Regions from separate parts of the Homo sapiens genome. Here all the other regions are linked to region 2. The links are contacts of gene promoters, found by promoter capture Hi-C in blood cells and fetal thymus (Javierre and others, 2016). All regions are on one chromosome and are shown on one strand. The core of a region is centred on a gene start or on the middle of the fragment in contact, and the rest is flanking DNA. Distances in the headings are between cores, read along the strand shown. Region 1 overlaps LOC124902439 (a long non-coding RNA gene). Region 2 holds the start of LRRTM3 (leucine rich repeat transmembrane neuronal 3). Region 3 overlaps LOC124902439 (a long non-coding RNA gene). Region 4 has its middle 190 kb from the start of LINC02671. Region 5 overlaps LOC124902439 (a long non-coding RNA gene). Region 6 overlaps LOC124902439 (a long non-coding RNA gene). Region 7 overlaps LOC124902439 (a long non-coding RNA gene).

The links. Contacts are between HindIII fragments. The CHiCAGO score rates a contact against its expected background, and 5 or more counts as called.
Region 1: a contact is called between a fragment that was not itself captured here and the fragment with the promoter of LRRTM3 in region 2, in 2 of 17 cell types (M2 macrophages and M0 macrophages). The highest score is 7.1, in M2 macrophages.
Region 3: a contact is called between a fragment that was not itself captured here and the fragment with the promoter of LRRTM3 in region 2, in 2 of 17 cell types (M0 macrophages and M2 macrophages). The highest score is 5.3, in M0 macrophages.
Region 4: a contact is called between a fragment that was not itself captured here and the fragment with the promoter of LRRTM3 in region 2, in 1 of 17 cell types (endothelial precursors). The highest score is 7.8, in endothelial precursors.
Region 5: a contact is called between a fragment that was not itself captured here and the fragment with the promoter of LRRTM3 in region 2, in 3 of 17 cell types (M2 macrophages, endothelial precursors and M0 macrophages). The highest score is 9.8, in M2 macrophages.
Region 6: a contact is called between a fragment that was not itself captured here and the fragment with the promoter of LRRTM3 in region 2, in 2 of 17 cell types (endothelial precursors and M2 macrophages). The highest score is 10.5, in endothelial precursors.
Region 7: a contact is called between a fragment that was not itself captured here and the fragment with the promoter of LRRTM3 in region 2, in 3 of 17 cell types (M0 macrophages, M2 macrophages and endothelial precursors). The highest score is 8.1, in M0 macrophages.

Annotation. Positions count from the first base shown.
Region 1 is chr10:64,111,094-64,113,793 of GRCh38, forward strand. All of the region lies in intron 3 of LOC124902439 (a long non-coding RNA gene), which reads left to right. Among named protein-coding and RNA genes, the nearest start is that of REEP3, 590 kb to the left of the region's middle. The HindIII fragment of the contact is 586 bases long and covers 1,089-1,674 here.
Region 2 is chr10:66,924,637-66,927,336 of GRCh38, forward strand. LRRTM3 (leucine rich repeat transmembrane neuronal 3) reads left to right here and starts at 1,400. Exons shown (of 3, transcript NM_178011.5): 1 at 1,400-1,951; 2 at 2,285-2,700. The coding sequence starts at 1,948. The region is part of intron 7 of CTNNA3 (catenin alpha 3); the gene reads right to left. The region is part of intron 3 of LOC101928961 (a long non-coding RNA gene); the gene reads right to left. RefSeq lists an enhancer at 787-1,643 and a silencer at 1,263-1,372. The HindIII fragment of the contact is 12,033 bases long and covers 1-2,700 here.
Region 3 is chr10:64,066,540-64,069,239 of GRCh38, forward strand. The region is part of intron 3 of LOC124902439 (a long non-coding RNA gene); the gene reads left to right. Among named protein-coding and RNA genes, the nearest start is that of REEP3, 550 kb to the left of the region's middle. The HindIII fragment of the contact is 229 bases long and covers 1,219-1,447 here.
Region 4 is chr10:64,737,357-64,740,056 of GRCh38, forward strand. No RefSeq gene overlaps it. Among named protein-coding and RNA genes, the nearest start is that of LINC02671, 190 kb to the right of the region's middle. The HindIII fragment of the contact is 2,982 bases long and covers 1-2,700 here.
Region 5 is chr10:63,973,250-63,975,949 of GRCh38, forward strand. The region is part of intron 1 of LOC124902439 (a long non-coding RNA gene); the gene reads left to right. It also overlaps the pseudogene LOC100420828. Among named protein-coding and RNA genes, the nearest start is that of REEP3, 450 kb to the left of the region's middle. The HindIII fragment of the contact is 183 bases long and covers 1,206-1,388 here.
Region 6 is chr10:64,028,754-64,031,453 of GRCh38, forward strand. All of the region lies in intron 2 of LOC124902439 (a long non-coding RNA gene), which reads left to right. It overlaps LOC105378333 (a long non-coding RNA gene), which reads right to left. Exons shown (of 3, transcript XR_946014.3): 3 at 566-785. Among named protein-coding and RNA genes, the nearest start is that of REEP3, 510 kb to the left of the region's middle. The HindIII fragment of the contact is 3,255 bases long and covers 1-2,700 here.
Region 7 is chr10:64,047,838-64,050,537 of GRCh38, forward strand. All of the region lies in intron 2 of LOC124902439 (a long non-coding RNA gene), which reads left to right. Among named protein-coding and RNA genes, the nearest start is that of REEP3, 530 kb to the left of the region's middle. The HindIII fragment of the contact is 1,684 bases long and covers 485-2,168 here.

The DNA of each region.
Region 1 (2,700 bases), core at 132-2,631, 2.8 Mb before region 2:
TTATGATCTTTCAGAAATTACTTGACCCCTCTGAACTTGTGTTTCCTTATTGGTAGGATAATAATAACGCTATCTACCTGAGAGTGCTTATCTATTCATTTATTCCACAAATGTGCTGAATGCCTACTATACATTGGGCATTGTTTTAGATGCTGGGGAATACAGCAATGAACAAGACAGACAAAAACCCCTACTCACTTACGTCCTAGTGATTGATAAAGATAATACATAAATAAGAAAAATAAGTAGAATATAGAGTATGGTAGATGGTGGTAAGTGTGAGGAAGAAAATTAAGCAGGAAGGGGAAATGATTTATTTGGGTGTGGTTTGCACTCTTAGACATGCTTGCTGAGAAGCTGCTATGGTTTGAATGCATGTGTCCCTCCAAAATCCACATGTTGAAACTTAAGGGCGTTAATCCTATTCACAAGGGCTGAGCCCTTTTGACCTAATCACTTCCCAAAGACCCCACTTTCTGATATCAGCAGTGGTATTTATGGACTGTTTATAAATGACCCAGTCTAAGGTATTTTGTGATAGGAATAGACTAGGTATTTTGTTAGTAGAAACAGGCTAAGACAGGAGGCCTCACAGGAACGTGGAAAGTGGTAATTAGTAATGACTAAAGTAACTGAGACAGGGAATCGTGTGGCTATCTGGAGATAAAAGCATGCCTCATGTGTTGTGTGTGAGTGTAGTGTGTATGGGGGAATCACAATGGAAATAACAATATCGTTCATAGCAGGTACTCAATACTTGTTTGCGAACTATGAAGAAACAAAAAATATGATGTGTCCACAGATTCTGTAACGGGAAATATGAATCCGGAAAGAAGGGCTTTACAAATAAAAATGCAAAGCAAAAAATGAAAGCACCATTCACCTTAAACTGGCAACACTGAGCGTGTGAAGAAATCTTGGTGAAATTTTTATCGATCAGTTGCCAACAGCCAGCCCAGCCCTTATGCATGCCTGAAGACTTCTACTGACTTAGTTATTGTTCATTTGCATACTAGAATTCAACATGGCCTTGGGTAAATTTTATGAACTGCAGCTCCATCAGAAGTAGCAAGGGGAGATAGCTTTTAAGCTTGATGTCAAAGAGGACACGGATCCCTCTCTCAGCCCTTCCTTTGTAGTTGCCTCTATAATAGGGTATTGAGCTTAACGAACCATTGATCTGACCAGCTCTAGCATTCTATGATTCTTTTCAGTGACCTAGGATGACTTTTTACTGGACTCTGAGATAGCAAATAGGTTTTAGCTCTTGTTCCAACTCTGGTTAGTTGGTAGTGACTGACGGGAGTACAGTCGTGATAAATGCTAAGCCCTATTTGGGCTCATCAGGAAAGACGGCTGTGATTAATTAGCAATGTCTGCCATGGTGGTAGAGATGGTTGCTCACATTTTCCTACCCTATACATCTCCATGTACGCTGTATGAGAAACTGAGCCAAAACATGGGAAACAAAGCCTTTTGCTACAGGCTAATGTTTAAAGACCAAACTCCCCTAGATGTGAAATAACAGAGGTGTATGTATTATGACTTGATAGGAAGACTCTTCAAGGAGAAACTGAAAGTCCATCTGACATTTGCAAAGCATCAGAGATTTGTGAATGAACTCTGGTTATGTTAGAAATAGACAGTAAAGTAATGGGAAATGAAGATAGATCAAGCTTTGATTTATTTGGCCATTTGATACCACCTTTGACAACTTTGTCTAATGAAATGTGAAAAAAGTGCAGAGCACTAGAGCATAACAGAGTCTCATTTCTAAGTCATAGTGCCCAGCCGACCAAGGGAAGCTGAGCCCTAGGCATAGAATGACTGCTTTAATTCCAGGCTGCCACTCTCCTCTGCTTGACATTTGACAGTGTACTTAAAAGTGCTCCTAAGCACATCAAGGGAAATGAATAAGTAAATAATTGGTTGCCCCTTTAAAAATAGAAAATATCAGGCTAGGGTTTAATTAACTGCCATAAATTATTCTCAAGCTAACTGTTCAGAGAAGAGCCACTTTTACCCTTTGCCTCCGATGAAGGAATATGGTTTAGGTTATTTACAGTTTCACTTTCTAAAGAGGAAGTATGAGGTAGTGAGTTTCCCATCACTGAGAATACTAAGGGATAATTTTCTGTACTACTCTGTTGGAGGTTAGACTAGAAAACTATTGCTAACCTATCTCCAAAGATGCTTTTCTTGAAGCCATTCATGAAAATGTGTTTTGGGCAAGGCTTAGCAAAATGAATAGAGCAGTCATTCTTTTCTATTTTTGAAAAATGTTACCCATTTCTGTATAAACCCATTATTCATGTGAGGATAAATAAGGCTCATCGTGTGGAAATAATGGGGATCCAGGAGAGAATAGTCTAGCTCAGAAAATGTTTATTAACACGGACTATGTGTAAGGCATGGATGGGGCCAGACTCCATGGAAACTGTGATATTAACATCAACGTCATCAAACCTAATGAAGGATGACGTGGCAGATTTGCAAATAATTATCATGTAGGCAGCAGGTGATAGGAGATTTAGAATACAAATAAACTACGGTGGGTAGATAAAAGAGAGAGGTATTAATTCTACAAAAACTAAGAGTGATAGATGACAAGGAGGACAGTCAAGGAAGGTTTCCTAAAAGAAAAGACATTTGAACTGAGATTTCACGAATAGGAGGAGGCTTTTACAAGTACAGGTAGGG
Region 2 (2,700 bases), core at 150-2,649:
CTTTGTGAGTTAATGAAGGTCAGTATAGTCAATATTCAGTACGTAATCCTAGCAAGTACAAATAAAGTTAATATTATTCAAATATCTTACACAGGCTTATTGCATGCAACACACTGTTCTAAGTAACATACAGATATTAAAATGACTTAATTCTCAAAACATGAAGTGAGTTTTTGTTTTTATGCCCGTTTTGCAGATGAGAAAACTGAGGCATAGGGAAGGTAAGTAACGCGCTTAAGGTTACATAGCTGGTAAATTGTAGCCAGGAGTTGGAATCTAGGTGCCAAAATCTATGCTGTTAATCACTAAACTACGCTGCCTTAGTTTTTATACTTCTTTAGGAACCTCAGACCAAAAGAAATTTAGGCAATTCTAATAGAACAAGCAAGAATTTGCTAATCACAGCTTCCTTGCCCCAATCCTTTAATCGGCTTCATTTTCACTGACTTCTTTTTTAAATGAAGATAACAATGTTGTTGAACAGGATCATCTAGTGGTTAGTGGTTCGGCATAAGAATGACTCGCTTCTGAAGCTCAGCTCTAGCACTCGCTTGCTGTATGACCTTGAGAAAGTTACCTCCCCAAGTCTGTTTCCTCATCTTTAAAAGAGAGGTTATAATAGGACCCACATCATACTATTGTTTAAAGAGAAAACAACGTAGCCCATTTAAAGCACTTAGAAAGTGCTCCATAAATATTATTAGTGTAATAAATAGCAGCAACATCAATAAAGTATGAACCAAATGATCTCTTGATTCGTATCCTAACACTAAAAATGGTTTATTTCCCTTCTAATTAAAAGAGAATTACAACAACCAAAACAACAAACGAAACTATAGCCATAAAATCAATTATATCGTCTGTGAGAAAACCGGAAAGGCTATTGGACACATTAATTCACTTGTCATCAGTCATCCCCTCTATTCCAAAATGTTTGTGTTCTAACATCCTGAGACACCTTGCATAATATAATCACTGTGACTCCAAGAGGTCAAATGGGCAGGCAGTTAATGCTTCTCTGTGAAAAGCTCAATAATTCATTTTATAAATTTCAGTTTAAAGCCTGCGTTGAGGTTAAGAAAAATTGACGTTCGGTCTGTGAACTTAATGTCAAGCTCCAGAAAAACTCTGGGCAGCACATGTTTAGCAATTAAGTGGACACAGACAATAAAGACGTTGCCAAATTGTAAAACAAGACTTGGAAATCACAGAAAATGTTGCTAGTTATTGATCACGGTGACCATTCAGTTCCTACTGAGCCACCCAAAAGAATCATTCATTTTCCAGCAGAGAGCCTGCTCATTTGCAAGATAAAAGAGAGACATTTCTGCACATGCCCATAATGTTCTTCACCACTGGGGGCAGCTTTACATAAGACTGCATTCACTGAAACCAAAGCAACAGTCCGAGCAGCTTTCAGAATGACAGTCTGCAGAAGTGAGCTGAGCGTGTGCGCGGTACGGGGCTCTCCTGCCTTCTGGGCTCCAACGCAGCTCTGTGGCTGAACTGGGTGCTCATCACGGGAACTGCTGGGGTATGGAATACAGATGTGGCAGCTCAGGTAGCCCCAAATTGCCTGGAAGAATACATCATGTTTTTCGATAAGAAGAAATTGTAGGATCCAGTTTTTTTTTTAACCGCCCCCTCCCCACCCCCCAAAAAACTGTAAAGATGCAAAAACGTAATATCCATGAAGATCCTATTACCTAGGAAGATTTTGATGTTTTGCTGCGAATGCGGTGTTGGGATTTATTTGTTCTTGGAGTGTTCTGCGTGGCTGGCAAAGAATAATGTTCCAAAATCGGTCCATCTCCCAAGGGGTCCAATTTTTCTTCCTGGGTGTCAGCGAGCCCTGACTCACTACAGTGCAGCTGACAGGGGCTGTCATGCAACTGGCCCCTAAGCCAAAGCAAAAGACCTAAGGACGACCTTTGAACAATACAAAGGATGGGTATGTTTTGTCATTTTTCTTCTTTCCTTCTTAAAAACAAAAAACAAAAAACCTCTAGTGTGTGTAATAATTCTGCCTTAATTATTTTAGAGATTACCTTGCTCTGCTCTAAGACTATGAATTTATTTGCTTAGTGGCATGTTTCCTTGTTTAACTATTTAAAAAAACAAAACACTAAAGACAATTCTCTTTAATTACAAAGAGATAATATGTGATGTTAAGTGTTATTTAGATTTAAATTTTTAAAAATGAAAAATATATGCCTATTTTTGCTTGATTAAGGATTAATTCTTTTTTGGGGGGATAACTTTTCTAAGTTGTTTTTATTTCCAGGTTTCAATGTAATTAGGCTACTGAGCGGATCAGCTGTAGCACTGGTTATAGCCCCCACTGTCTTACTGACAATGCTTTCTTCTGCCGAACGAGGATGCCCTAAGGGCTGTAGGTGTGAAGGCAAAATGGTATATTGTGAATCTCAGAAATTACAGGAGATACCCTCAAGTATATCTGCTGGTTGCTTAGGTTTGTCCCTTCGCTATAACAGCCTTCAAAAACTTAAGTATAATCAATTTAAAGGGCTCAACCAGCTCACCTGGCTATACCTTGACCATAACCATATCAGCAATATTGACGAAAATGCTTTTAATGGAATACGCAGACTCAAAGAGCTGATTCTTAGTTCCAATAGAATCTCCTATTTTCTTAACAATACCTTCAGACCTGTGACAAATTTACGGAACTTGGATCTG
Region 3 (2,700 bases), core at 83-2,582, 2.9 Mb before region 2:
AATAATGATTGATAATTGTCCATGATCATCTCTATATCTAATTTGTATTATGACTATTCTTATTTTAACTATTTTCTTTATTATACTGAAACAGTTTGTGCCTTCAGTCTCTTGCCTCGGCACCTAGGTACATAAGCACTTTCGTGCACATATACCCACATGTTATCTCGTTGTTTCTTAATCTTGCTGCCTATTTCTGTTTGTTGCTACCAAAAATTCCAAAATAATAGGGTTCAGGAGGGAGAATTTGGAGCTGAATGTTGGACAGGGGGAATTATTTCTATCCCTCAGATTAGGTGGTTTATCAGGGAGAGGGCTGCTGGAGGCCGATGCAGTTTTGAAAATGGGCAACAAGACATTTCTCAGTCCTGAATCAAAATAAAGCCACAAAAGATCTTCCCATAGAGGGTAAAGGGATTACATCTTTCATATGGGATTTGACATTGTATTTTCTACTTTTTTCTCCCCCTGTGCATGTTGGGAGTGTGACTGATCCATGAAAACTTTTCCAGTCCTGGCTTTCATGATTTTTTTTCCCCTTTCAGAAAAAAATAGTTATTATAAAAGAAGCACAACTCCTCTAGCCTCTCCAAAATAGAATAATGACATTTTCATAGCAAGCGATTGTGGGAGGAAGTGCGGGGATGTTGCACTGGCTGAAATCCAGTGGTTTTTAAAGAACCAGAGAAAGGTCATTCACCTCTTAAAAAGTGACAGTTGTGAAAACAAGCCAATTTTGGAATTTGTCATCGTGCGTTAACAGCATACCCTTTTGTAGTTACTGATATCTGTCAGGGTAAATGCCAGCAATAAAGAGCTTGCTTGCAGGCTTTGCTGAGGAGGTAGAAGTCTTGTATTTTAGGCCTGTACACATTTCTTTGGCTTGTTGGAAGCAGAAGTGGTTGAAAGAGCTTTGGCCTGGGACTTCTGATGCTTTATTTATCCTGGCTGTGACACTGAGGAGCTTCTTGACACTGTGGTTCACAAATCTCTCTGGTTCTCAAGTCCCTTCATCTGTAATGTGAATGAGAGTTAAAAAAGATTAACTCTAAGATCCTTTCTTGCTCAAAAATTCAGTAATTCTAAGATCTGGATAAATGCCAGAAAACACAATGGTCTCTGTATCAATACTTTATTTTTTCTCCAGGAAATAATTGGTTCCTTAAAAGACCTTGCCTAGGGTGGATGGACAGTTTGCCAGTTGCATTTTGGAAGAAAAGCTTCTATTTAGCAGCACTTTCTCTAAACCTTCCTTGACTTGCGTTAAGAGAGACCCTGGTGTGGCCAGATCTGTATCTTTGCACCTTGCCTCCTAAGCCCGAGTCCTCATGACCTAACTTAATATTTGAGCCAATTGCTCAGAGTTGCTCCCTTTGGTGTATCTGTGCCTGGATCTCAGTCCTAAAAATGACATTTTGTTGTTCAGGATGATTAATATTAAAATTGAAGCTTTTGAAAGTACAAAACAAACTAAGACACCATGGAGTCTGTGATGGTCAGTTTTATATGTCAGTTACGCAATCAAACACTAATGAGGGGTTGCTGTGAAGGTATTTTGTAGATGTGATTAATGTTCATTATCAGGTGACTTTAAGTACAGGGAATTATCCTGGGTAATGTGAGTGGGCCCAATTCAATCAGGTGGAAGGTCTTAATGGCAGAACTGCAGTTTCCTGGAAGAGGAAGAAATTTCATGTGTGACTGTAGCTTCAGCCTATGTTCAAGAGTTCCAGCCTATCTTTCTTGGTGGCCTGCTCTAAGCATTTTGGTCTTGCCTAGCCTAGCCCACAATTGTATAAGCCAATGACTTGCAATAATCCCTTAATATCTATCTCCTACTGGTTCTGTGTCTCTGGTAGAATTTTGGCAGATGCAGACCTCAAGTCCTGCATTTTATAGAGAAACTGGGGTTCAGTCCCCAGAGTTCGTTGATGGGACAGCCAGGTGCCCTGACTTTCAGGTCTATAAACTTCTCACAGAACCATATTTCTACTGCCTAGAATCCAGTCCTCAGTGTGGACACCAGGGCATAGATTTAATACATGATGGAGTCATGCCTCCTCACCCTGTGCTTCCAAATGGGTTCACTATGTCTTGGTAGATGGGTTCACCATTTTTCAATGTCTTCTGTGTTGAATGTCCTGGTGGAAATGCAAACATAGTGCCCAGGAACATTACAACCCATGGGACTTTAGCAAGAAAATCTAGTGCTCAGATTTTGTGGAAAGTTACTTAGCAAGATGTTGAGGGATACTGGAATCTTAGAAGAGCAATCCAGCTGCATCTGTGAGCCATGACAAAAGTGTTATAAGGCTGCAAAGATACTTCTTGTCCATGCTTTTCCTTGGAAAAGTAAAGCTCTTGTGTAGTTGCTCTTAATTTTTTTTTAGAATTGACTGAGAGGCCTTGGAGAATCTAATGCAGATGTAGTGGGTGGCTGTTCCATGCATTATAGAATGTTCAGCAGCATTCCTGGCCTCTACTCCCTACTAGAAGCCAGTAGCATTCTCTTAGCCGAGACAACCAAAAGTGTATCTAGGCATTGTCAAATAGCTCTGGAGGGCAAAATCACATCTGATTAAGAAACACTGACCTAAGAGAAGCCAGAAAATTGCACATATGAAGAAAATTTTGCGTATGATTTAAGGGTGTTCCTAGACCTCCCTAAAACCATCCACAGGGACCCCAGGTTAAGAACCT
Region 4 (2,700 bases), core at 179-2,678, 2.2 Mb before region 2:
ATATATCAAAGTTACAAAATTAGTGACAAACCTCAGACTCCTGATTTTACCTAGAAACTTTGATTATACCCAGAAATTTTGATCATACTTGTCCACCAGAATCTCCCCAGTAACATGTCATTTCATTCAATTTTATTATTCCATAGTGGAACCCTGACAGATAACACCAAGTTAAACATTGACTGAGTTAATTTTCAAGGATTGCAATGTTGTATAGGGAAGTAAAAGTAAATCATGAAATTTATAAAAATAAAAACAAATTACTTTAATGATAAAAGTAATTTTCCAAGGGGGAGTTTGCATTTACACATTATGTGCAGATAATTTCTTTTTCAGAGAAGTATTTCAGGAGTATTTTGTTTAGATAATAAACTTGGCATCAGACTGCTTGGGCTCAAATCTAGACAATACCCTTGCTAGCTCTGTAAACTTGGGTGATTTACATAACTTTACCATGTCTCAGTTCTCTAATTTATAAAATGAGGATAGGCAGTTTCTAACATGTGGTTTTAGGAGGGTTATTACAAAGAAATCAGTTAGAACATTACTTGTCATACTGAAGAAAATGAGTTCTCTTTTTTATCAAATTTAACATTCTTTCATATAGGAAGAGGTCCCTGAAAATATTTCATGTTCTTGTCCTTTTTTGCACTAAAAAATACATAGCTTTAGTTTTCAGGAAACTTCAAGTAATTACTTTTTTAAAAATTACTTTCACTACTTGTAATTTGTAAAACACCAGGCCAGCACCTGAAATACAACTGCCACTTTTCTGCCATCTCCTAGCACCACACTGTAATAACTCTGAATTATATAGGATTGGAATTATATATGAAGTGTTCCTCAATAATTAAACTTTGTCCTGTAGTTAAAACAGACATTCAGGTGAATTGGAGTGTGAAGAATTGTCTGGTCCATTAAATTAGCCTGGTGCTATCTGTTTCTTATCCTCTTTACTTGAAATTTTCTATGTGATACCCCTTGACTAAGAAATAATCATTCCTAGTAAGAGGAAATTGATCACAAACATGTTCTACTTGTGAGGAAAACAATAGAAACAAAAACTCAGTTAATAGTGAACTACATCTTGGGGAAAATACATTCAATTGCTTTGACCACCATAAACGAATCTGGATGGAATTCTGACTTATCTTTGGAAAGATGGTTGATCTTAGCTTAATCACAAAAAGGAAGACAGTGATAAAAGAGTGGGGGGAATGCTGAAATGAGTTTTTCCAGAGCACAGAAGTAGGTAAAGTTGATTGATAGCTAGTGCTACTCTCAGTGTAAGTTTCCATCAATATAATTAAATTAAAAGTGAAGAGTTGGTTTGGAATTTTCTCATCACTTCTCAAAATCACAAGGGCATCTGTTAACAAAGCTGCTTTTTTACACACAAGAAACTTCAAGGGAATTGAAACAAATAAGACCAGAATTATGAGACTATCGAACTCTTTTGTCTTCATTGTATTTCATCAAGTCTCTGTTTTAAAGCAATGAAGTAACAATATAAGGGTTACATTTCAGATGAGTAGGCACTCTGAGAGTTTTTATCTGATTTTGGATTTAACCAAACAACTTACAAGTCATTTAGAAACTAAATTCCTTCCATTCATTCAAAAAACATTAATTAAGCACCCATTATGTTTCAGGCTAGGTGCTGTGGATACAGAATAAGAAAATATTTAGAAAATTTTTATTGATAGTTTAGAAAGATGCAATATGTAATCTCTTAGAAACGTGAGCTTCTGTCATTGGGTACAATAAAACATAAAACTATCTCTACAAGAACAAAATGAGAGAATAAAGCAAAATAGCAATATATGAGAGAAAATTACAGGTATTCATTGACTATCACTTTGCTGTAAGTCAATGGTGGGGTGAAGTTACCTAAAATTTAATATGATTTTAGGGTGAGTTAGGTTGTCAGTAGCAGCTTCCTGGTGGTCTCGTGGTTAGGATTTGGTGATCTCACTGCTACACCCCAGGTTAGATTCCAAGTCAAGGAAATCTTTCTTGAAAAGAAGTCAAGAGAATGTTGTAATAGTTTTCTCCTTGATTAGATTACACTGTGGGATGAAAACACAGCTAAGTAATTCATTTGATTCTATGTTTTCTACTTTAAGAAGAATCATGTCAATATATGAGTCGAACATTGCAACTACTATAACTGAGCAAAACTTAAGAGACTTGTGAAAGGTAAAAATGTGTGCCCTAATATTTTTGCCCTATGTGAAAGAGTGATTGAACTTCATTGACTCTTGAGGGCAGACAAGAAATAATGAGATAAATTTATAGCAGTAGCTAATGTTGAGCTTAGCTACTTTTTTTTTTTTTTTCTCAGAATTGAGGCAACACTTCAGCTGCTGGGAATGATCTTCTGCAAGGACCTTCTGCTCCTTTGTAATCTTCCTAAGCTGAATACAGTCTCTTCACCCAAGAGTAAGTCCCCTCCCTGGGGATAGCTCAAGTCTAATGGTCAGTTGGTAAGGTAAGTAGAACCCTCCCATGTTCTTTTGCTCAAGGCAGGGCAACTTAAAAGGCCTATTTTAGCTCCAAATGTCCATAATAGAGGCCTCTTGCAACCACAGCTAAACTCCTGCCACTGCCCAGTCCTACTTCCTTCACTCCCCCAGACTTGTTGATGTAGGGGTTACCTTTCAGTAAACCTGTACACAAATCTCCATCTCAGAGTCTATT
Region 5 (2,700 bases), core at 47-2,546, 3.0 Mb before region 2:
GCATGCAAGCCACCTCCATTCAGTCAGGAAATGGGGTGCTCTCGCGCTCTGGCTTTGAGCATGTTCTGCCTCTCAGTGACTCCGGGAAAAGGACCAGAGGACACACGGGAACTGATTTCCCAAGCTGCCGCCCCGTACCAGGCGCTGAGGGGTTCGCAGGCCCTGTGGGTCCGGGCCTCCGCAGTGGCAGTCCTCAACAGTCCCCAACAGCGTGGGACCCACCTGAGCCCAAACTCCTGCCTCAGAGGCAGGAGGTCCCGAAGCGCTCGACAGGACGCCGGGTGGGCGGCTAAGATTGCCCTCTGGCGCCCTTCGCTGGTGCGCCCTTTCTTTGCCACGTGCTCCAGTGACTGTCGCCAGCACCGCGTGGGATAGCGCCGCCTGCGAGCAGAGTCGATAGCTAGGCGATCTCTGCGCCTAGCAACTACAACAGAGCTCAAACGGCTCCTCACAGGCAACTCACTGGCAGCTTCGCCCACTGGTCCCTGCGCCGCCCTTCCCCCGCCCCCGCCACTCCGCCTGGCCAGATCGCTCGGTTCCCTGCAGCTCTCCTGGGCCCTGTTCGCGGGTTGTTCTATGAGCATTGCGAGCTTTTGCCTCTGTGCAGCAGCAGGCTCAGCCCTCCGTTCTGAGCAGTGTCTGGGGGGGACACTCTGTGTTCCAATGGGCCACTTCGAAGAATCAGGCCACCCGGGAACAATAAACATCCCTCTTCCTGGGAGCAAAGAGACCATCCTCCGTTTGCCACCTTAGCCGCTAGTCGTCCCTTGAGGCTGGTGCCATCAATCACTGGGTAGATCCTTGTCCAAAGGAGACTGAGTGAAGGGCCCTAGGAGAGGACAGGAAAGAAACAGCGAAGGAAGAGGACACCAACTAGTGAGCAACGGTGGCAGGATCAGAGAAGAGGCCCCGTGGCAGCAGGGGTGAATCATCAGCATACAGTGGCAGTAGGAGCACTAAGCCATCAGCATCTAGGCCTATGGAGGCCACTGGACTGTTGTCTTTTTTCCGGTGCAGTCGAGGGTCTCTGTCTTGAGACCTCCAATCTGGGCTCCCAGAAGACGGCTTGAGTAAAGACAGCCCAGACGTCTTCAAAGAGCTCATCCTGCTCCCCCCTGCTCAAGAGGCTGACAGAGACAGTGCTTGATGAAGGCCGTCGGAGAGCTCTCCACTCACTGATGTTGGAGGAGACTAGCAGGGAAAAAAGCTTCCAGACACCATTTAGATGCTTGTCAAGGAGAAATTCTTCACCCACATCTGCCAGCTGTAGGCCTCGTTGATGGAAAATTTCAATGTTGCTGCTGCCGCCACTGCTACTGTTGTGGGATGGAGGTGAGCTGCCTTCCTCCCCTCCTCAGCTTCCTTGTCTAGTCATTAGAGAAGACCTAAGCTTAGAGAAGAAAGCTGAGTGTCAATGGCTCAATAACATATCGGAAGTTAAGACTGAAGCCACCATGGACTGCAGTGTCACTCAGCCTGTGGGTTCTATTGCTCTGCCTGCTGTAGGGAATGAAAACATCCTGCCCCTGGTCACTTTCACCTTGTGGGTCTTGCGTGTTAAAACATTCCCAGTTGCAAACTTAGCTGACCAGTCTGCCAGGGCCCCAGTCCTGTCTGCCCTTCTATCTTCTCACACTCCAGAGACTGACTGTAGAATGAGATGCACATTCCTCTCCTGATTCTCCATTTGCTGTTTGTGCTGACTGTCTTTCTCCTTTTAGGTTCAAGCTCATTTTGGGGGTTCCACTTAGTAATAAGAACAGAGGACCTGCATTCCCATCCCTCAGTCATAGCTGGAGTGTCTTCTACTACTGTCCTCCTCACACCTGCCAGCACCTTGATTTTCTCCTAGCTTGCCTCCTGCAGAATAGAGTCACCTATGGACTCTCCAGTGGATTCATGGATACCCTCCCCCAGTCACCTCCGCCAGTACTCAGCCTTCTCCCACCAGCCTATCACTGCTTCTGCAGTCATGTCCTCCATTGCAACCAGCACGTCTGCACGGTTGAACTCTTAGCTACTTTGAACTTTGATGTCACTGGCATGGACATCACTCCCCCTTCTCAAGCTTTCTTCCTGAGTTCTCCTTCAGGCTCCAGAGAGAACATCTTCCCATTTTCCATGGAGCTCCCTGGTTCTGAGAACATGTCACCCAGGAGCAGCATTACCTCAGCCTGTTCCCACCAGTTTGTCTGCACAGTTGGTCAGTGGCCCAAATGCAACTTTCAAAGTTATTGTGGCCCAAGAGCCACTGTTTAGCCCACATTTGAGCCCCTTCTGGGCTGAAGCTTGCAGCTACCAGCTTTGGTAACTTATTGACATCAGACAGCCCCAGTAAGAGCTTCAGACTTAACCTCCACTGCAGCCCAGCCACTCACTGACAGCATCAATAAGCTTCGTGGGTTTTACATCCTTATTTTCCCTTTGGCATCCCTTTCAGCACCCAGCTGCCCTTTGGATGCACCTCAGACATTTTGCCTGTTGGTACAGCCACTACTTCTAGCTTTAGAGCCCCCACCAGAATGCTAGCCCTGGGGCTAGTAGTTCACTGCTTGCCAAGACTACTGCAGGCCCATTTGTGTTTATGGAATCTGCAGCCCCAGTGGGGAGCAGCAGCTTTAGGGTGAGTGTGGCTGCCCTAGGCCCAAGATCCATGTCTAGACCACTCAGCTTTGGTGAGGAACCAAGGGGGTCACCCAG
Region 6 (2,700 bases), core at 176-2,675, 2.9 Mb before region 2:
CCCTTCAACGAATGCTAAAAGTGAAGGTTTGGTCATTTCAGGGCAATATTTGGAGCCTTGTAGACAACTTCAGATGATTAATTTATTCTAACAGTGAATAAGAGAGGTGTGCTGCAGTGTGTCCTCAAGGCTGACTTTTTAGTGATAATTTTACTCCGTCAATTACCTCTTTTTCTCTCTGTCAATTTCATCCCCACCAAGCCATCACAGTACACAGAGGATAACGCAGGTGGGTGATAAAATATAGGGTTTGGGAATCTATCCATGCCTTTTCAGGCTCTGGGAATTTCACCATGAAAAGGGATTGGCACAATGAAACACGAATTCAACGTCCATTTAAGCATTTTTGAGCTTGTGTGAGCTTTAGAATTGAAGAGAAATCCCTGAGGATGCTTATGCAAGAGCCTAGTAAATGTTTTTTTCTTGACATATAAACAAATATTTTTTCTAGCTATTCGTTTCCAGGCACTGTGCTAGGAGCTTTAGGCTTAAAGATAAGTAAACAGGAGCCAAAGTTTTATGGAAAATTTTTTATTCAAATATTTCAAATTTTGTAAGTGCTGCAATCAATAAATATTCTAATTGTCATGGTTCCACTGAAGCCTTGTCTATGTGATGCTGTGATCAGGAGAGAGGCTCGAGGTTGTGGCGGCTCAGCTGCTGCTTCAAAGGAGTATGGGAGTTTGTGGATGGAGAAGAGAGTGGTGAGCTTTGCAGGCAGTGAAGACAGGATGTGCTGGTACAGGACTCTTTAATTGTCATGACTTCTTGATTTTCTGGGGTATCTTAAAAGAGACTTTGGCTCAAAGATCTGGGAAATTTTATTAAACTTGCGACATCTACCAGACCAAGAAGTTAGACAGAGCTGCTAAACCTAACTTTCACAAATATTCCCTGAACCCCCATATGATTATTTTCTCAATCTAGCCTCCTCCCATTACTATCACAACTCTCCTAATGAAACAAGCAGGAGGAGAAGTTTCTGACATTTCCTTCTCCAGAGGCCTTGTCTTCTTTGCTAGTTTATGATTTATAATTGTACATCAAAGTGCTCTGAATATCCCAAGTTACCTAAAATTAACATATCAGTTCACTGGGTTTGATACTATTGGAGAGATGGGGAAATATTCTCAAGCAATTGGTTGAAATCAAGGACATAAAAAGAAAGGCATTATGCAAATATTTGGTTATTAAGATTTTCTGCCTAGAGGGGATAAAGTCAGATAATGGGAAATAAATGAGATCAAAAGTTTCCTCTATGTTTTAATATTAACTTTCTTTAAGAGTAGTATTTGGCCTCTTTAGCATCATATCTTTATCAAGACAAAGGAACAGAAGCATAAGAAAGCACTGAGTGCTTTGGGGTGATATGCGGATATGGAGTATCGGGAGTGGACGTGAGGTAGGGGTGGGAGGGTGGAGTGGAAGAGTGAGGCCAATGAAGTAGACGAGTTTGACTATGGAGCACTTTGCTTATCATATGGGGCTTTTCTAATATGAGTAATAATCTGTTCCCAAACATCTAGTGAAGGTAATAACTTTAAAAATATACCTTTCAAGTTACAAGACAATTTCCCATTCATTATCTCCCATGATCATTACAGCAATTTGGAGGTGGACTGGTGCCTGCCCTAGGTCACACAACAGAGACTGAGATGCGTCTTTCTGAAGGCATGTTCTCTCATTTACTTGCTGAGAACAATTGGGATGACAGACCGTGAATAACTTGTTATCTTTGGGCATTGAGATTATAATGGATAATCTGGTTGGTAATCAGATTTTTTTAACTTGATGAAACTTAATTCTGGGATTACTGCATCTGACTTGAAGAATTTAGGCCACTAACTTCAGTGGGACTATGTTTCTGCTTGACTGGGGCTTTGATGGCTTATTGCCTGGGCATTGCAGTTTCTGGGCACCTCAGATATTAATTGAGGGAGAACCCAATGACTCTGGCTCTACAGGAATTTTTTTTAAATTTTATTTATTTATTTATTTATTTTGGAGACAGAGCCTTGCTCTGTCGCCCAGGCTGGAGTGCAGTGATACAATCTTGGCTCACTGCAACCTCTGCCCCCTGGGTTCCAGCAATTCTCCTGCCTCAGCCTCCCGAGTAGCTGCGATTACAGGCACCCGCCACCACGCCCGACTGATTTTTGTATTTTTAGTAGAGACCGGGTTGCACCATCTTAAGACAGGCTGGTCTTAAACTCCTGACCTCAGGCAGTCTGCCCACTGCGGCCTCCCAAAGTGCTGGGATTACAAGTGTGAACCACCGCATCTGGCCTGGCTCTACAGGACTTTTTAAAGAACCTCTATCCCCAAGTCGCATATGAATGGTCAGTCTGGGGGGATTCCATGGACTTCAATTATTCTTTACTAAATCCTCCCAGGGGGAGGCCTTATTCATTTTTTCCTTAGTCTTTTTCTTTGTGGTTTTATAAATTTCCAGTCTATGAACTTTAAGTTGGAGAACTGAGCTGAAAAAGAATGCTTAGATCTGATTCTCATTTTTTAGCACTACAATAAACTATTTGTTCTAAAATAGCTTTATTTTCTAAGTCTTATTCTTCCAACAGGATTGTAAGTTACTGGAGGGCAAGGACCTTTCTTCTAGATCCTTTGTTTTTCACATATTACTTTTGACCCTTCTAGCCTTTATATCCTGATTTTAGAAAGGCTCAAATAAAATCTTGCATC
Region 7 (2,700 bases), core at 77-2,576, 2.9 Mb before region 2:
GCTAAAGCAATCCTGAGCAAAAAGAACAAAGTTGGAAGCATCACAATACCTGACTTGAAAATTTACTACAAAGCTATAATAAGCAAAACAGCATGACACTGGCATAAAAACAGATGCATATTTCAGTGGAACACGATAGAGAACCCATAAATAAGTCCATGCATTTATAGCAAATTTATCCTCAACAGTGGTGCTAAGAACATACAATGGGGAAAGGACAGTCATTTCAATAAATGGGAAAACTGGATAACTATATGCAGAGGAATGAAACTAGACCTTATCTCTCACAACATTCAATTCAAAATGAATTAATGAATTGAAGACTTAAATCTAAGACCTGAATATATGAAACTAGTAGAAGGAAACATTGGGAAGCACTTTAGGACACTAGTCTAGGCAAAGACTTTTATTTTCTCTAAGACAGAACTCAAAGGCACAGGCAACCAAAGCAAAAATAGACAAATGGGGTTATAACAAGCTAAAAAGCTTCTGCACAGCAAAGGAAACAATCAACAAACTGAAGAGACAACCTACAGAATGAGAGAAAATATGTGCAAACTGTCCGTCTGACAAGGAATTAGTAACCAGAATATATAAGGAGCTCAAACAACTTAGTGGCAAAAACAAATAATCCGATTTAAAAATGGGCAAAAGATCTGAACAAACACTTCTCAAAAGAAGCCATACAAGTGGCCAAAAGGTTAACAAAAAAAATACTCAATATAACTACTCATCAGAGAAATGCAAATCAATACCATGATGAGATATTATCTCACCCCAGTTAAGATGGCTTGTATCAAAAAGTCAGAGAATAACAGATGCTGGTGAGGATGTGCAGAAAGGGGACACTCATGTACTGTTGATGGAAATGTAAATTAGTACAGCCACTATGGAGAACAGCGCGGAGATTCTTTGAAAAACTGAAAATAGAACTACCATATGACCCAGCAATCTCACTACTAGGTATACACTAAAAGAAGGAAAATCAATATATCAAAGAGACATCTGCACTCCCATGTTCATTGTGGTACTATTCATAATATCCATAATATGAAATCAACCTAAGTGCCCAAAAATGAATGAATGGATAAAGAAAATGTGGTGTATACACACAACAGAATGTTATTGAGTCTTAAAAAGAATGAAATCATGTCATTTGCAGCAACATAGACGAAACTGGAAGCTATTATATTAAGTGCAATAAGCCAAGCACAGAAAAACAGGTATCACATGATTTCATATATGGGAGGTAAAAAAGTGAACCTCATGAAGATAGCAAGTAGAATGGTAGTTATCAGAGGATGGGAAAGATAGTGGGGAGAGGAAGAGGAAGGGAAAAGAAAAGAATATAAATTTAAAAATAAATAAATAAAAAATTTCAAAAAAGAAAAAACCCATCCCATTTACAATAGCATAAAAATTACTTAGGAATAAGTTTAATGAAGGAGGTAAAAGACCAACACACTGAAAACTGTAAAACATTGATGAAAGAAATTGAAGACACAAAAATAAAAAGGTATTCTATGTTCATGAATTAAAAGAATTAATGTTGTTCAACTGGCCATATTACTCAAAGTGATCTACAGATTCAATGAAATTCTTATTAAAATTTCAATGGCATTTTTTACAGAAATAGAAAAAAAATTCCTAAAATTTGTATGGAACTACAAAAGACCCCAAATAGCCAAAGCAATCTTGAGCAAAAAGAACAAAGCTAGAGGCATCAACTATCTGATGTCAAAATATACCACAAAGCTACAGTAAGCAAAAACAGCATAGCACTGGTATAAAAAAAAGACAAATAGAAAAATGGAGATGGACAGGAAGCCTAGAAATAAATCCATGCATTTGCAGCCGACTGATCTTCAACAAAATTGCTCTGAACACACAATTGGGAAAGGACAATCCTTTAAATAAATGGTGTTGTGACAACTGGATATCCACATGCAGAAGAATGAAATTGGACCCTTATCTCACAACATATACAAAAATTAGCTCAACATCAATTAAAGACTTAAATTTAAGGCCTGAAACTCTAAAACTGCTACAAGAAAAACGTAGGATAAAAGCTCCATGACATTGGTCTGGGCAATAATTTTTTGAGTGTGACCCCAAATGCACAGGCAACAAAAGCAAAGATAGACAAATTGGAATATGTCAAACTAAAAAGCTTCTGCACAGTAAAGGAGACAATAAAGGGAGTGAAGAGACAACCTCCAAACTGGGAGGAAATATTTGCAAATCATATTTCTTATAAGGGGTTAACATCAAAAATATATAAGGAACTCAAGCAACTCAATAGCAAGAAAACAAATAATCCAATTTTAAAAATGGGCAAAGGATCTGAAGAGACAGTGCTCAAAAGAAGACATACAGATGGCCAACAGGTTTAAGAAAAAGTGCTCAACCTCACTAATTATCAGGGAAATGCAAATTAAAACCACAATGAGATATCACCTCACATAAGTTAGAATGACTATTATCAAAAAGACAAAAGATAACAAATATTGGTGAGGATGTGGAGAAAAAGAAATCCTTATGCACTGTTGGTGAGAATTTAAATTAGTATGGCAATTATAGAAAACAGTGTGGAGGTTCTTCAAAATTTAAAAATAGAACTACCATATAATCTAGCAGTTTTACTACTGGGTGTATATCCTCTACAACAGGACTGCTTAGTCTCAATTTTTATGTGTATTT